Regions from separate parts of the Homo sapiens genome. Here all the other regions are linked to region 1. The links are contacts of gene promoters, found by promoter capture Hi-C in blood cells and fetal thymus (Javierre and others, 2016). All regions are on one chromosome and are shown on one strand. The core of a region is centred on a gene start or on the middle of the fragment in contact, and the rest is flanking DNA. Distances in the headings are between cores, read along the strand shown.

Evidence for each region. The method cuts DNA at HindIII sites, captures the fragments that hold promoters and counts their contacts. A CHiCAGO score of 5 or more calls a contact.
Region 2: a fragment that was not itself captured here is called in contact with the fragment with the promoter of DPY19L1 in region 1 in 1 of 17 cell types (M2 macrophages); the score reaches 5.1 in M2 macrophages.
Region 3: a contact is called between a fragment that was not itself captured here and the fragment with the promoter of DPY19L1 in region 1, in 1 of 17 cell types (monocytes). The highest score is 6.4, in monocytes.

What each region holds. Positions count from the first base shown.
Region 1 is chr7:35,035,489-35,039,874 of GRCh38, forward strand. DPY19L1 (dpy-19 like C-mannosyltransferase 1) reads right to left here and starts at 1,997. Exons shown (of 22, transcript NM_001366673.1): 1 at 1,609-1,997. The coding sequence starts at 1,906. It overlaps LOC105375228 (a long non-coding RNA gene), which reads left to right and starts at 1,298. Exons shown (of 3, transcript XR_001745162.3): 1 at 1,298-1,433. RefSeq lists silencers at 1,687-1,856, 1,887-2,556 and an enhancer at 2,607-2,836. The HindIII fragment of the contact is 4,166 bases long and covers 404-4,386 here.
Region 2 is chr7:31,807,502-31,812,278 of GRCh38, forward strand. PDE1C (phosphodiesterase 1C) reads right to left here. Exons shown (of 18, transcript NM_001191057.4): 16 at 1,530-1,607. Among named protein-coding and RNA genes, the nearest start is that of PPP1R17, 120 kb to the left of the region's middle. RefSeq lists an enhancer at 4,359-4,458. The HindIII fragment of the contact is 1,279 bases long and covers 1,474-2,752 here.
Region 3 is chr7:39,944,993-39,949,503 of GRCh38, forward strand. CDK13-DT (CDK13 divergent transcript) reads right to left here and starts at 4,427. Exons shown (of 1, transcript NR_158201.1): 1 at 2,529-4,427. RefSeq lists enhancers at 1,758-2,052, 3,502-3,691, 3,713-4,511, 3,822-3,871, 4,132-4,261 and 1 more. The HindIII fragment of the contact is 2,093 bases long and covers 1,829-3,921 here.

The DNA of each region.
Region 1 (4,386 bases), core at 747-3,246:
CCTGAAGAAGCAATGCCATTCTATATTTTACTACAAAGTGGTTAATGTTTAGTCATTCAATAAAAATGCAACTCCATTCTGTCATCAGATCTCAAATCAGCATCACACACTTTCTTTTATTACAACAACTACAATGTGTCAAGTGCTCTAAACACAAAGTATCTTCCCATGTATCACCCACACCTTTTAGTTATGATCCTTAACAGATCCTGTGGATCCCTGTGGAGTAAATTCGCCATGTGATAACCCCCCACTAGCAGAGAACGAAAGACTCACAAAGGAACCTGAAACTTAAACCAAACTGAACCGCTGTGTACTAGATCTGAAGGCTCTGCCTCATCCACTGTATCGTGCTGCCTCCCCAAGGTGAGCTTTTCTAACCTGCATACTAGCCAGCTTTTCAAGCTTGCTACTGAGATAAAAAAAAAGGGGGCGGGGGGAAATGTGCTGGAAACAGACAAACAAACAAACAAAGAAAAACAAACTTGGTTTTTCTAGGCTTGAATCGGCAATGGGGGGAAAAAAAGTACCCTAGGAACAACCTTCTTGAGCCCATTAAAACATACAGAGATGACTGGCTTTTTATGACTGAGTGGCTTTTATTTGTGGCTGTGATCTCAGGGGAAGCCAATTTGCTGTGTCCTATTCCTTGACTTATACTGGACCCCAACTCCTGGCTAAGGGAACTTTGAGTCACCAAGGGAATCTGAAAATATACTAAGGGATAAATCAACAGTAATTAAATAGTTCAGTAGCGAAAAGCCCACTGAGGCATATAGAAAAAAGCAATGTAACAGCATTTCACTAGTTGACTTAGAAAAATTAGGCCTGTTATCCAAACTGCTACAACTTGCCTTATCAAAATTCAACCAGGAAACAGAGGAAACCTGAAGTCAGTCCGAAACATACGAATGCGTCAACTTTGTTTTTTTTTTTCAGCACATCATTACACATCATCCATTTGGTAAATGGCAGAGGGAGGGGAGGAGAGCCCTCCTCACCAAAGGTTCCAAGGGCAGCAGGGAGGATTAAGGCTCGGGCGCCCCAAACACAACACAACCTAGAAAGTGACGTGTCGAGGGGAATCACAAATAAAGTGCCACCAGCGGCGTTTGCGGCCAGGAAGAAAAAAGTACGCTAAAATTTAATTATAAGTTTAAGCAACTCTCTACGACATGGAACGTGCGTTTGCTTTGAGCTCCACGGAATCGTTTCCAAGCCAAAGCAAACCATCCTGGCGGTCAGAGGCCGAGATAACGGGAAGGCGGCCAGTCGTACCAATCAGCAGCGCTCAAGTCTCGTTAGCGCAGACCTGCTGCCCGCGGCCAGGCCGGGCAGCTGTTGATCCCCGGGCCATTCTTTTAAAGCCCAGGCAGAGCGCGGGTGGGAAGCGTGCGAGGAGAGCTGAGCCAGGGAGTTGCGGGGAGGAGAAGGTAAGAATGTCCCAGAGAAAAAGTCGGAGAGGGCTGCAAACTGGCTGGTCCGGCTGGCGGGGCTCGGCGCGGCGGAAGCGGGAGGAGAGGGGAAGGAAGGGGAGGGGAGGGGAGGGGAGGGGGCCAGCGCCTCAAAGTTCCGCGTCCCGGCGGCGCCGGCGCTAGGGCTGCTCACCTAACAGGAGCGTGGTCCAGGTCCGGCCGCGCCCCGCGCGCCGCAGGCCCAGCGCCCAGCGCAGCCGGGCGGCCAGGCGCCCCCCAAGGCCGCCCCCGGCGGGCGGCGCGCCGGGCTCGGCGCGGGGCCCCTTCCTGCCCGCGGCGCCCTTGCGCCCCGGGGACAGGGGCGCGCGCTCGGGCCCCGGCTCCCCGGCGCCGACGTCCGACGCCCCCCTCAGCGGCGACTGTGAGGCGCGGGGTGGCTGGGGCGGCTTGGGAGCCGCCTCCCGGTGCTTGTTCCGCGCCTGCAGGACCATCTTGGCATAGTCGCGCCCGCTCGCTGCGCGCGCCCGGACGGCGGCCAGAGAACGGCGGGCTGGCTGGGCGGCTGGGCGCAGCTCACTCTCCAGCGGGCGGGCGGGCGGAGGGTGGAGGGCGGGCTCGTCCCTCCCCGCGGGCCGGGAGGCGGGGAGATCGTGGAGGCCGGGCGGCTGCTGCCTGGCTGGCAGTACCGCCGGGAGGCGGCGCCGGACTTGCTAGCCCGCCGCCGTTGCCGCCGCTCCGGTTGTCACGGCGACCGCGGAACGCCGGGGGGCGGGGGCGGGGACACCCTGCGAGCGGCCGCGGCCCCGCCCCCGCCGCCCCTCTGCGCCGGACGCGCGCTCCAGGCCGGCCAGCGCGCACGCGCGGACTTCCGGCGCAGGCGGGGCCCGACCCCTCTGGCGCCCGGCTACCCACACCTCTTCGGCGCCCGCGCGGGGCTCGGCCGGTGCGAGGACGCGGGGGCGGACGGCCTTCCGGAGGCGGCCGCCCTTCCATTGTGGGAGTGATGGGGCCGAAGGAAGAGCCCTCTCGGGATCGGGGCGCTGATTCAAGTTTCGGAGCCTGTTAAGGCTGCGCTTGGAGCCCGCGCAGGCGAGACGCGGCGGGGCAGGGAGAAGGCGCCCGGAGCGGCCACTTAGGGGCGCTGTGCGTGCGCCCTGGGCGCCTGGTCGGCCCCACCGATGTGAAGCGCGCGGGTGGCAATCAAGTCACCGTCTCCGTTTACTCCCCGCAGTGTGGTCGCGCAACTTGGAGCGCAGCCCCTCACTCACCGACAAGAAGAACGGGTGCGACCCGATTTAAGATAGTAACAGAGTATTAAAATAGCAGCCTGGAATCTCATGGGGAGCTGATAAGGGACGAGGCACAAGTGTAAACTGAAGACCAGGGTAGGAGCCAGGCTGAAGGTGATAGGATGGATTGGCTGGAGCAGGAAAGATCATCAATAAGTACATTCAGTTTGTTACACTTGCTGTAACCTTGTTGCTTAATAGGAAGCAGGAAAACTTGGCGTTGATAAGATAGGAGATTTTAGTCGAAAATATGTTTTCTTTTACATAGCAGAATGCACGAGTAAATTAAACCCGGGAAAATTTAGAAACCCAGGTAGATCCCAATTCTCCCTCCACCCCTGCATTCTTTGCACACAGTCTTACAACAGCATGGATTACAACTGGGAGGTTCCTTTCCTGGCCGTGCCCAGTGGCTTGTTCCAAAAAGTTGTCTTTAAGTCCCAATGTTGTAAATCAAGGCCCATCGTTCTGCTTATCTCTATTGTAATTCCAGGGACTTCACGTGGCTTTCTCGCTCTTTGTTTCTTTGCCCAGTGATTTCTTTACTAATACCAGCATTCGTTCATTGTTAGCCTTTTTAAGAGACAGTGGATTATTTTGTAAAGGGAGGGTGTTTGCCATGCTAATTAATACTCCCTCATACCCTGTCTAGTTTATGAATTTGGATTTTCCAATGTCTTTATTGGAGCAAAGAACAACTATTTTTATACACTGGTTTAAAAAATAATGGTTGAAAGTAGGATGCAGAAGGCTTGGATTCTGAAACATTGTGTCAGCTGAACTCAATGCTACCTCTGGGATTAATGTTGAATGTATTCAGTTAAAAGAAAGCTAATTCAATGCCTATTAAAGATAATACGAATAACTGGCCGGGCACCGTGGCTCACGCCTGTAATCCCAACACTCTGGGAGGCCGAGGCGGGCAGATCACGAGGCCAAGAGTTCAAGACCAGCCTGGCCAAGATGGTGAACCTCTGTTTCTAATAAAAATACAAAAATTAGCCAGGCGTGGTAGCAGGCGCCTGTAGTCCCAGCTACTTGGGAGGCTGAGGCAGAAGAATCGCCTGAACCCGGGAGGCGGAGGTTGCAGTGAGCTGAGATACGCCACTGCACTCCAGCCTGGGCGACAGAGCGAGACTCCATCTCAAAAAAATAAATAAATAAAAATAATACAAATGATGGATTTTTTTTAATGATTAGAAAGACGCATGGAAAAAGAGGTTCAACATTTGAATTATTAGATTGCTGTGTGTCTACTTTATGTGATAGGCCCTGAATTCAGGAACTGCCTCCCTTAAGCTGGTACCGTTTGTACCAGGAAAACACTTGTTGAATGAGTGAGTGAATGAATGCAGTTCCACAAGTGCTTGTCAGTTCCCCTTCTCGGCTTGGCAACCATGCGGAGAGGGGCAGTGTGAGGTATTAGTTTTTTGGTTTTTTTGTTTTGTTTGTTTTTTTCTTAAACACGGTCAATTTAGATCCAGTTTGCAGCCACTACATTGACCCATACCAGCCTTGACCAAGGTATTATACCTCTTTGAGTCTGGATTTCTTCATTCTTAAAATGGAGGCAACAAAAACATCTAGTTCACAGGTTTGTAAAAAATAAGACAATGTGTGTAAAGCATCTAACAATTACATATATCCAAGTAGTTGCTCAGTGAATGTTCAAATTGTCTGGA
Region 2 (4,777 bases), core at 863-3,362, 3.2 Mb before region 1:
TAATCCACAATGCCCACATGACATCATTATAGCAGATGTTTGTACCACAATATACAAATGCAACAAGATTCAAAATGGCATACGAAAAATTTGGGACTTGATTTATTCTGGGCTTTTATGCTATAGAAATTTAACAGGAAGCTGTGGGCCAATAGTTGGATACAGGATGGAGAAAGTGTCTGGGTTCTGGGTTTGAAGTTGACAGCGTTCCTCCACTGTACATTTTCTGGCTTTGGTTGCCTTGATTTGGTATTGATGGCTGGCAAAGAGCCTCTGGTATTTAAACAAACCTTACCTATAATAGAGTCTGGCTCAGAGACTGTCATTCTAAATTCTATTTTGTTCTGTGTAATTTACTTCTTAGTCACAATTATTCAAGAAGGGTACACTCATTAGGTAAGTGATTTCCATTTGCATAAGCACATTGGTAAAAAAAAAAAAATTGCAGGTATGTGTTCCCCAGGTATTATGTAATAAGACACCTGGAGTTAATTATTTGCATTGTCTTTTTAGAAAAAGTTTGAGAACGGTTTTCATGCATGCAAGCAAAGACAGCATGTCATAACAGCTTAGGGCTGAAAGCTAAAGGGGCTGCTTCCTTTATAATAGATGTGCAAAGAATTACGTTCCAATTTATTCTTACTCTTCCACCTGGTTACCCAGCATTTGTTCTTCAAAGGTATTCTAACCAAATGATTCAAAGAAGAGTTTAGCATCAAATATGATGTCTCCAGGGAGGTATGATTTAGAGAGTCTGGGATTCTCTCAAAAACCACTCCGTGGAAACTTTAATTTTTAGCTTAATATGATGTCTGTGTATGAGGGGATAACTAGTAATGAACCTGTGTGATAGCTGAAACAATGAAGTTTATGTAAAAGGCCAGGGCAGGTGTTTCAATCTTATAGTTCAAAGTGTGAAGGGTAATATAATTTGAACTTTCAGGTTTTAGAAACAGTAAAATGTTGTTAATCTTGCGTTTTGCATTGTCATTGCCTTTAGGACTTGTTCTTGCTGGCAAAACTGTATTTTACAACCATATATGCTGCCTCCCAACATTAGCACTATAAAGACCCCTGTTTTTGTTTTTGTTTTAAACAAAAATAAGAACTAGTTCAAGGAAAAAAAACATGAAAACATAAAACATGGAACATTTCTTATTTATGCTGCATGATTCCCCATCAAAAAACTTATAAATACATTAGCAGTATATGATACTCCATTCTAGCTGTCTGATCAGCAAGTCTAAAATAAACTTTTTATGATGTTTAAGATGAAAAATGGCAAGTAGGAAAAGAAAGGGTATAGAAAACATTTGTGATGGAGAAAGTGGGGTGAAGGGGAAGAGATACAGCAATAATTTATAAATTATTGATAAAGGGATAATAGTACCCTTTAAATATAGTGAAGGGTTTTTTTCAGGATATAAGAATATATTCACAACCACTATTTCAATTTTGGGTATGATTCTAACAAGCTTACATTAAACTGCACATTTTATGGAAAAATGTAATGAGAATAATACTCTTACCATCTGTTTTCTTTGAATCATTTCCGATGTTAGAGTGATCCTTCTTGTCTGTCTTATTTTTACCATCTTTGAAGTCACCTGAAAGTAATAAACATGACAAACAGTATATGTATGCAGCTGAGGGGGTTGTTATAAACATCTTTAAGTCTGCCAAGTTTTGAAAAAGTGCAGCATAATTTTATAGTCATAAGAGTGTATGTGTCTGAGTGTAAATATCTTTTGTAATCACGTTAGGTCCTGGAAATTGGATTGTGATGCAGAAATTGAGGCTGAAAGTTCTTGTTAAACAGAGTTGTAGTTAAGTTATGTGCTTATCTTCTAAGAGAAGCAGTTAAGATTTACTGTTAAGCTGTGGAGTGAGGAGAAACCCGAGCTAACTGTAAGTTCTACCAATTAATAGCTATTTAACTTCTCTGTGCTTCAGTTTTCCTATCTGTAAAATGGGTATGTTAATACCTACCTTATAGGCATTTTGGATAAATTAGAAGGCATATCACTCAATACAGTTATTATTATTCTAAAACAGAGCTAGAAATGGTATTTTAATAAATGATCTTGTCAAAATGTAGTTTGTAAAAGTTGTAAAATGCTATTCTTAGAACACGTGTCAAAAATGTATTTAACCCACTTATGAGGGAATAGTAAGAGGATTCCAAGAGTACTGGAGCTGGGTATTGACAGGTATTTTAGAAACACGTGAAAATATATTTGCTAAGTTAGAGACAAAACTGGGTATATCCTACAGGGCAATAAAACCATAACGTTTGGGGTTATCTTCTCTCTCAGTCAAAAATCTATAAATTAGCATATAACTTCACAGTACCTAGGCTTGAATCAAATAGTAAGTAAAGTTAAACACAGTCATGTTCTTCAAGAGTAGCATTCAGCAAATTAAGGCCCCTGGGTCAATGGTGCCCACCATCGATTATGGCAAATACATTTTCTTGAAACATGGCCACACTTACTCATTTACCTATTGTCCTTGGCTGCTCTCATGCTGCAACAGCTGAGCTGAATAGTTGCAAAGAGACAGGCAAAGCCAGAAATATTTTCTCTCTGGTTCTTTACAGTATAACAGTGCTGCATCCCTATCTAAAATAATTTAATAATCCCTGGGCATGTGTGTTCAACAATATGCCAGTATTACATGAAAAGGTCAGGGGCCTCTTCACCCAGCCTTATTTTCAAGTGTTGGATATTTTCTTACCAGTCTTACTAATGGAAGCTTTCTTTTTAGCCTGCATAAAACCAAGAACACATTCTCACTCAAATACTGGTACTTATTGAAGCCAAAAGATCCCAATAATAATTGGAGTGAGCTGGGCCTCCAGGGAATGTGTATGAGGGACAGGATTTACTCTTGTTTACTTTATTTGTGCCAGGCAGTATGCTAAATGCTTTGCATGCATCATTTTATTAAATCTTCTAATAGCCCCATTATGAAGGGGCTACTATTATTGAAAGTAGACAACTTCATCAAAGATTCATTCACTAAATGTCCAATTTGTAAAATTTGCTGAATATCCCACTCACCAAATGATTGAGGATGTTTTCCAAATTTAAGTTTTTTTCTTGAGGTTCCTGCAGCCAGTTAGACAAACACAGGCCATTCCATCTATGTTAAGGGGTATGGACTGCCCACACATACATTTCATACCCCACCCTGAACTCACATCTGCCACAACCATGCACCTGGATCTCCCTCTTGGCATAACTGCCAAGCCCTCAACTATAGTATTTGCAACTTCTCTATGAAGTTCAAGTTTTAGATTTCAGACTTCTGTTTACTATTTCCATTTCTAAATGCCTTTGGCCTATGAATTTATAAAGAACTGATTATCTAAGCATGATTCAGGACTATTGGGGGCTGTAATATATTCTACAAACCACATACTTGCAATGGAATTTGACAAATACTAAGCTAAGCTAGAAGTCAATAAACTCTTCAGGTTCCCTCTCATTCTTAATTCTGAAATGGGATGGACCGTGATATGGTTTGGCTGTGTCCCCACCAAAATCTCATCTTTAATTTTACCTCCCATAATTCCCATGTGTTGTGGGAGGAACCCAGTGGAAGAGAATTGAATCATGGGGGCAGTTTCCCCCATACTGTTCTTGTGGTAATGAATAAGTCTCACGAGGTCTGGTGGCTTCATAAGGAAAAACCGCTTTTGCTTGGTTCTCATTCTTTCTTGCCACCACCATGTAAGATGTGCCTTTCACCTTCCACCATGATTGTGAAGCCTCCCCAGCCACGTGGAACTGTGAGTCCATTAAGCTTCTTTTCCTTTATAAATGACCCAGTCTTGGGTATGTCTTTATCAGCAGTGTGAAAACAGACTAATACACACTAGGTGGAAGAATTGAGGAGCAGGGGAGTCTACTCTGGCCAGGGTCCAAACAGGAGGATTTTAAGTGCAGGACATGGTCATCACCTCTTCCACCACCAAAAGAGAAGAAATCCTTCAGAGGTCCCACAAAACAGTCCAAATACTGGCTTTTCCCTATTTTAATGAAGCCAGAGATGGACTCAAGGATCTTGAGCACTGTAGTCAAACTAGTTCCTTCTAGTTCATTCTTCCCTCAATGAGCCCCCACACTCTTAATGCATGCTTTTTAAGCCCTCTAGGTTGCTCTGAACTGGAGCTTTACCCACAGCTACAGCAACACCAGGATGTCTTCTGGAAGTCGTGGAGATGGTTCCCTTTGCTGGTTGCTAACCAGCAGCCCATGATGGTTCCTGTTCTCAGCCAGGGATGGGGAGGCTGTGGGAGGAAGTCATCTCAACAGAGGGCAAAGATTAGAAGATCCTGTCACTGCCAGTGGGTGCCCAAACCTTGAAAACCCCTCCTTCACCAACAACCTTCAGCTCTAACTTGGAAGATATCCTGGGCACTCCACAAAGAAGGGGGCTGGGACAGTGACACATGCTTGTTTGATGATGTTGCCTGAGCAAAATCCATTAAGTAATTTCCCATGGGTTGTATCTGGAGTAATGGCTGACGTGAGCTGTTACTCAATAAACAAGGGGAAGTGAAAGAGACTTTCTGTGCAGTTATAAATCATTTTAATTAGGCTGCTGTAATATAGTCCCGAACCACCATTAGGCTTTCTTATTATTGCTCTAAACTGCTTTCTTTTCCCACCTCTCATTTACTGCTTACTTTTTAAGGGAAATGGTAGACTGTTGCTTATTTCAGGAAATAAGCACAGTTGTGAAATCAAGCCAGCCTTGTTGAAGACTCAGG
Region 3 (4,511 bases), core at 1,625-4,124, 4.9 Mb after region 1:
CAACAGACCATAAATGTGAGTGAATCAATTCTTAAATGCTGATTTTTATCCTTTTTTTGTAATGTTCTGTAAACAAAATAAGACTTATATTGCCAGTTAAAAAGTTCTGGTAGAAATGGGCCGGGCGCGGTGGCTCACACCTGTAATCCCGGCACTTCGGAAGGCCGAGGCGGGTGGATCACCTGAGGTCAGGAGTTTGAAACCAGCCTGGTCAACATGGTGAAACCCTGTCTCTACTAAAAATACCAAAACTAGTCAGGCGTGGTGGCAGGCGGCTGTAATCCCAGCTACTCGGGGGAGCTGAGGCAGGACAATCGCTTGAAGCTGGGAGACGGAGGTTGCAGTGAGCCGAGATCATGCCATCGCACTCCAGCCTGGGGGACAAGAGCAAGACTTTGTCTCAAAAATAAAAAAAAAAAAAGTTCTGGTAGAAAAGATTTCCTGTGACCTATATCGTCATCAGCATTATATTTTAAGATGCTAATGATTCTACTTATGAGAAATTTTAACAAAACACAGATGAATTGTTCATGTTTGTTTCTCTCAAATTTGTTCATGTAATTAGTAACTTGAAATACTCTTGTTATCTAGTTGAACTTCCAAATATTCATGAATATTTATCTCCTAAGAGGACCTACACATTCTTGTAAAATTAAAGAATAAAAAATATTTGGCCAGGTGCGGTGGCTGACGCCTGTAATCCCAGCACTTTGGGAGGCCGAGGCAGGTGGATCACTTGAGGTCAGGAATTCAAGACCAGCCTGACCAACAGGGTGAAACCCCGTCTCTAAAACAAAAATTAGCCAGGCGTGATGGCGCACATCTGTAATCCCAGCTACTTGGGTGGCTGAGGCAAAAGAATTGCTTGAACCTGGGAGGTGGAGGTTGCAGTGAGCTGAGATCACACCACTGTACTCCAGCTTGGGCAACAGAGACACCCCGTATGAAAAAAAAAAATGTAGTTTGGGGCCAGGACATGAATCTTAAGTTTTTGGAAAAACCAACTCCCCAAAAATCACGAAAATTATTTTAGGACAACATGAAAAATAAGTTTAATGCTAGTACCATCCCTGATCTATTGGTAATGGATGACTGCATCACCGTGTCTGAGGGATTCTGAGGCTACATTTAGGGTGAGCAGGAAGGAGTGCTGCCATTAATTAATGATACCTACCATGGAATGGAATGAGGACATGGGGTCACATGGTAATATTTAGCAACTTAATTTGGCTGTAATATAATTGAAAATAGCAGTGGCTTAAACAAATTATTCCTTTTTTAGTCTAGGGTTGGTTTGAAGGATCCATAATGCCCCCGAGGAGTCACGTCTTTCTATTTTCCTTTCACTTCACCATCCTTAGCCTGTGCTTATTCCTTTGTTGTCATGGGACAGCTGCTCAAACTCCAGTATTGCATTTGAGTTCCAGATGTAGAGAAAAGTAAGAAGTAAGAGTGAGGGGCAGAAGGTACAGGTCAGCGAAACTGACCTTCCTTTTTTTTTTTGAGATGGAGTTTCGCTCTCGTTGCCCAGGGTGGAGTGCAATGGTGCACTCTGGGCTCACCGCAGCCTCTGCAACCTCTGCCTCCCGGGTTCAAGCGATTCTCCTGCCTCAGCCTCCCGAGTAGCTGGGATTACAGGCATGCGCCACCACACTGGGCTAATTTTGCATTTTTAGTAGAGACGGGGTTTCTCCATGTTGGTCATGGCTGGTCTTGAACTCCCGACTTCAGGTGATCTGCCCGCCTCGACCTCCCAAAGTGCTGGAATTATAGGCGTGAGCCACCGGGCCCGGCCCTGACCTTCCATTTTTTAAGAATCATTTCCATAAGCTTCGCCCAACAACTTCCACTTCACTTCATTGGCAGGAGCCAATGATCACGTCTTATCTGCAAGGAATACTGGGAGATGTAGTTTTTAGCTAGGCACATTTACCCCCATCAAACCCAGGATACTGTTACTTAGGTAATCAAGGGAAAATCCATTTAGGAAGACAGCTAGAAGTTTACTCCACCATTACTGTTTTATAAATACGTATCCCTCAGCTTTACTGAACCAGCAAGAATTCCCACTCCCCAGCACATAGAAGCAATATTGCACTTCTGAAAAAAAAGTGCTAACACTGTGGGCCTCTGAACTGCATAAAAGATGAGTCTGGGGCCTGGTGCAGTGGCTCACGCCTGTCATCCCAGCACTTTGGGAGGCCGAGGCGGGCGGATCACCTGAGGTCAGGAGTTTGAGACCAGCCTGCTCAACATGACAAAACCCCGTTTCTACTAAAAATACAAAAAAATTAGCTCGGCATGGTGGCGGGCAACTGTAATCCCAGCTACACGGGAGGCTGAGGCAGGAGAATCGCTTGAACCTGGGGGGCGGAGGTTGCAGTAAGCCAAGATTGCACCCCTGCACTCCAGCCTAGGCGACAAGAGCAAAACTCTGTCTCAAAAAAAACAAAAACAAAAACAAAACAAAACACGAACTCCCCACCCCCCCACACACAAGCAGTAATAAACAAAAATATAGTCGTAAATGGGAATTTCAAATCTCTTTAATATTCAGGCAAGCAGACAGGCTTATAGAAACAGACGGCTTCTAATTCAAAGGTCCTTCCCATTTTTTGGAGTTTGAATCCTATTAGTTATTAGTGTTTCCAACCACGTGGGCAGGTATCTTGAGCTCAAAATGTTCATTCAACCTCCCCCACCAAAGGTAGAATCTTTGAGGAAACGTGGGTGGTAGAACCACAGTAAAAATATTTTAGTACATGTTTTTTGTTTGCACCCTGGATTGGGAACTATCCATTTACTTTTTTTCCCTTCTTCTCCATTTAATACACTTACACATGGGAATTATCCATTTACTATGGATCAAGTTTTCTTTGAAAATATATGATAGAAGATGACATTCTCAAGTGGAACTGGTTGTACACGAGGGGAGCTGCAAGCTAAACCTCTTATTTGCTCTCTTTGTTCTGTTATTCCAGTCTATCTAACGTAGGACGATGGAACAAGTTGATCCTACATGTTTCTGAAAAAGCCACTTGCTAAACAGTCTTTGGTAGGAGGCTGGCTACAGGACCTTCACTCAACAATACTGTCAACCAGAAATTTGTTTTAGGAACCCTGCCCCCTATTTTTCTATTCAGTTTCCCAATGCCCATCCCATGGTGTTGCCCACCCAGGCCTGCCCTCCTGGGAAATGCTCTGACTTTAAGATTACCTATTCCTTTGCCTCCTCCTTTATCCTTCAGCAAACCAACATCCTTTGTACTCGGTCAGTGAAGTCTGATCTTAGCTTAAATCAGGCCAGTCTGTGATACTGTGATGTCAAACTGATTAAAATAATTTACACTAAGGTATTAACGATGGATAGATACCAAGTGTTTAAGAACTAAACCAACTGATGATCTGAACAAATGAATTTTCAAAGGGGTTACTACATTTAGTCATTGAACAGACGGCTTAGCTTTTTCTTTTATTAGAGGCAGGGCCTCGCCCTGCTGATTGGCCAGGCTGGGGTGCTGTGGCACGGTCATGGCTCACTCCAGCCTCGAACTCTTGAGCTCCAGAGATCCTCCTGCCTCAGCCTCCGGAGTAGCTGGGACTACAGGCGTGTGCCACTGCACAGGGTTAGCTTGCGTTTCCAACCATTCTAAAAGCCAATAAGCCATTTACATTTTAATCTAATTATCCCGAGTGCTTAGTCTGTAACTGAAGGGCAATTCTAAGGCAAGAAATGAGATGTGAGGTCACTATATGGCTATGTTTGGCAACCCCAAAGGTTTAGATATGAAGGTGAAAGTGGGTGAAGTACTAAGAGGGCAGTCCTCATTCGCACAAGATGTTTTTATTTCAAGCCTCCTGAGAATTTGGAATTTTCAGTAGTTCCTTTTAACATTCCACTTATTTCCTGTATTGATTTAAAGCTTTAAAAATTTTTATTTTAAAGTAAATAGTGTTACCGAAGCTTGAGCTGTGATTCCCAAGTGTGTTTTTTAGGATAAGAAGGGGCCTCGCGGAAGTTGCGGTGAGCCGAGATCGCACCATTGCACTCCAGCCTGGGCAACGAGAGCGAAACTCAGTCTCAAAAAAAAAAAAAAAAAAAATGGGGCCTCGAACTTTGGCGTACGTGAGACAAGTTAAACCAACGCCATCTCCACCCTGTTTTGCGGGGTGTTTTCTCTCCTTTCGCAGCTGTTCCACTCCCAGGGCTTGACTGAAGGTACACGGGGGGTAACTGCCTACTCCAGAAGGCCACCAACAGCATTATTTCCCTCGCAGTCTCCAGAAACACTTGTTCTCACTGTGACCTTTCGCTCAACAGGCAGGCAGTGCGGCGTCTGCAGAGCCGGAACCGGCACTGCGCGCTGGACGCAAGCAACAAGCACGACAGGCGCGCCACCACGGGCAGAGTCTCAAGCAACAGCAGTGGGCGGCACACGAATCCTCTCCTTTCTTTAACCCTTCTTCACACGGAGTCCCACCCTCGCCGGAAGCCGAGCGGTTTCTACATC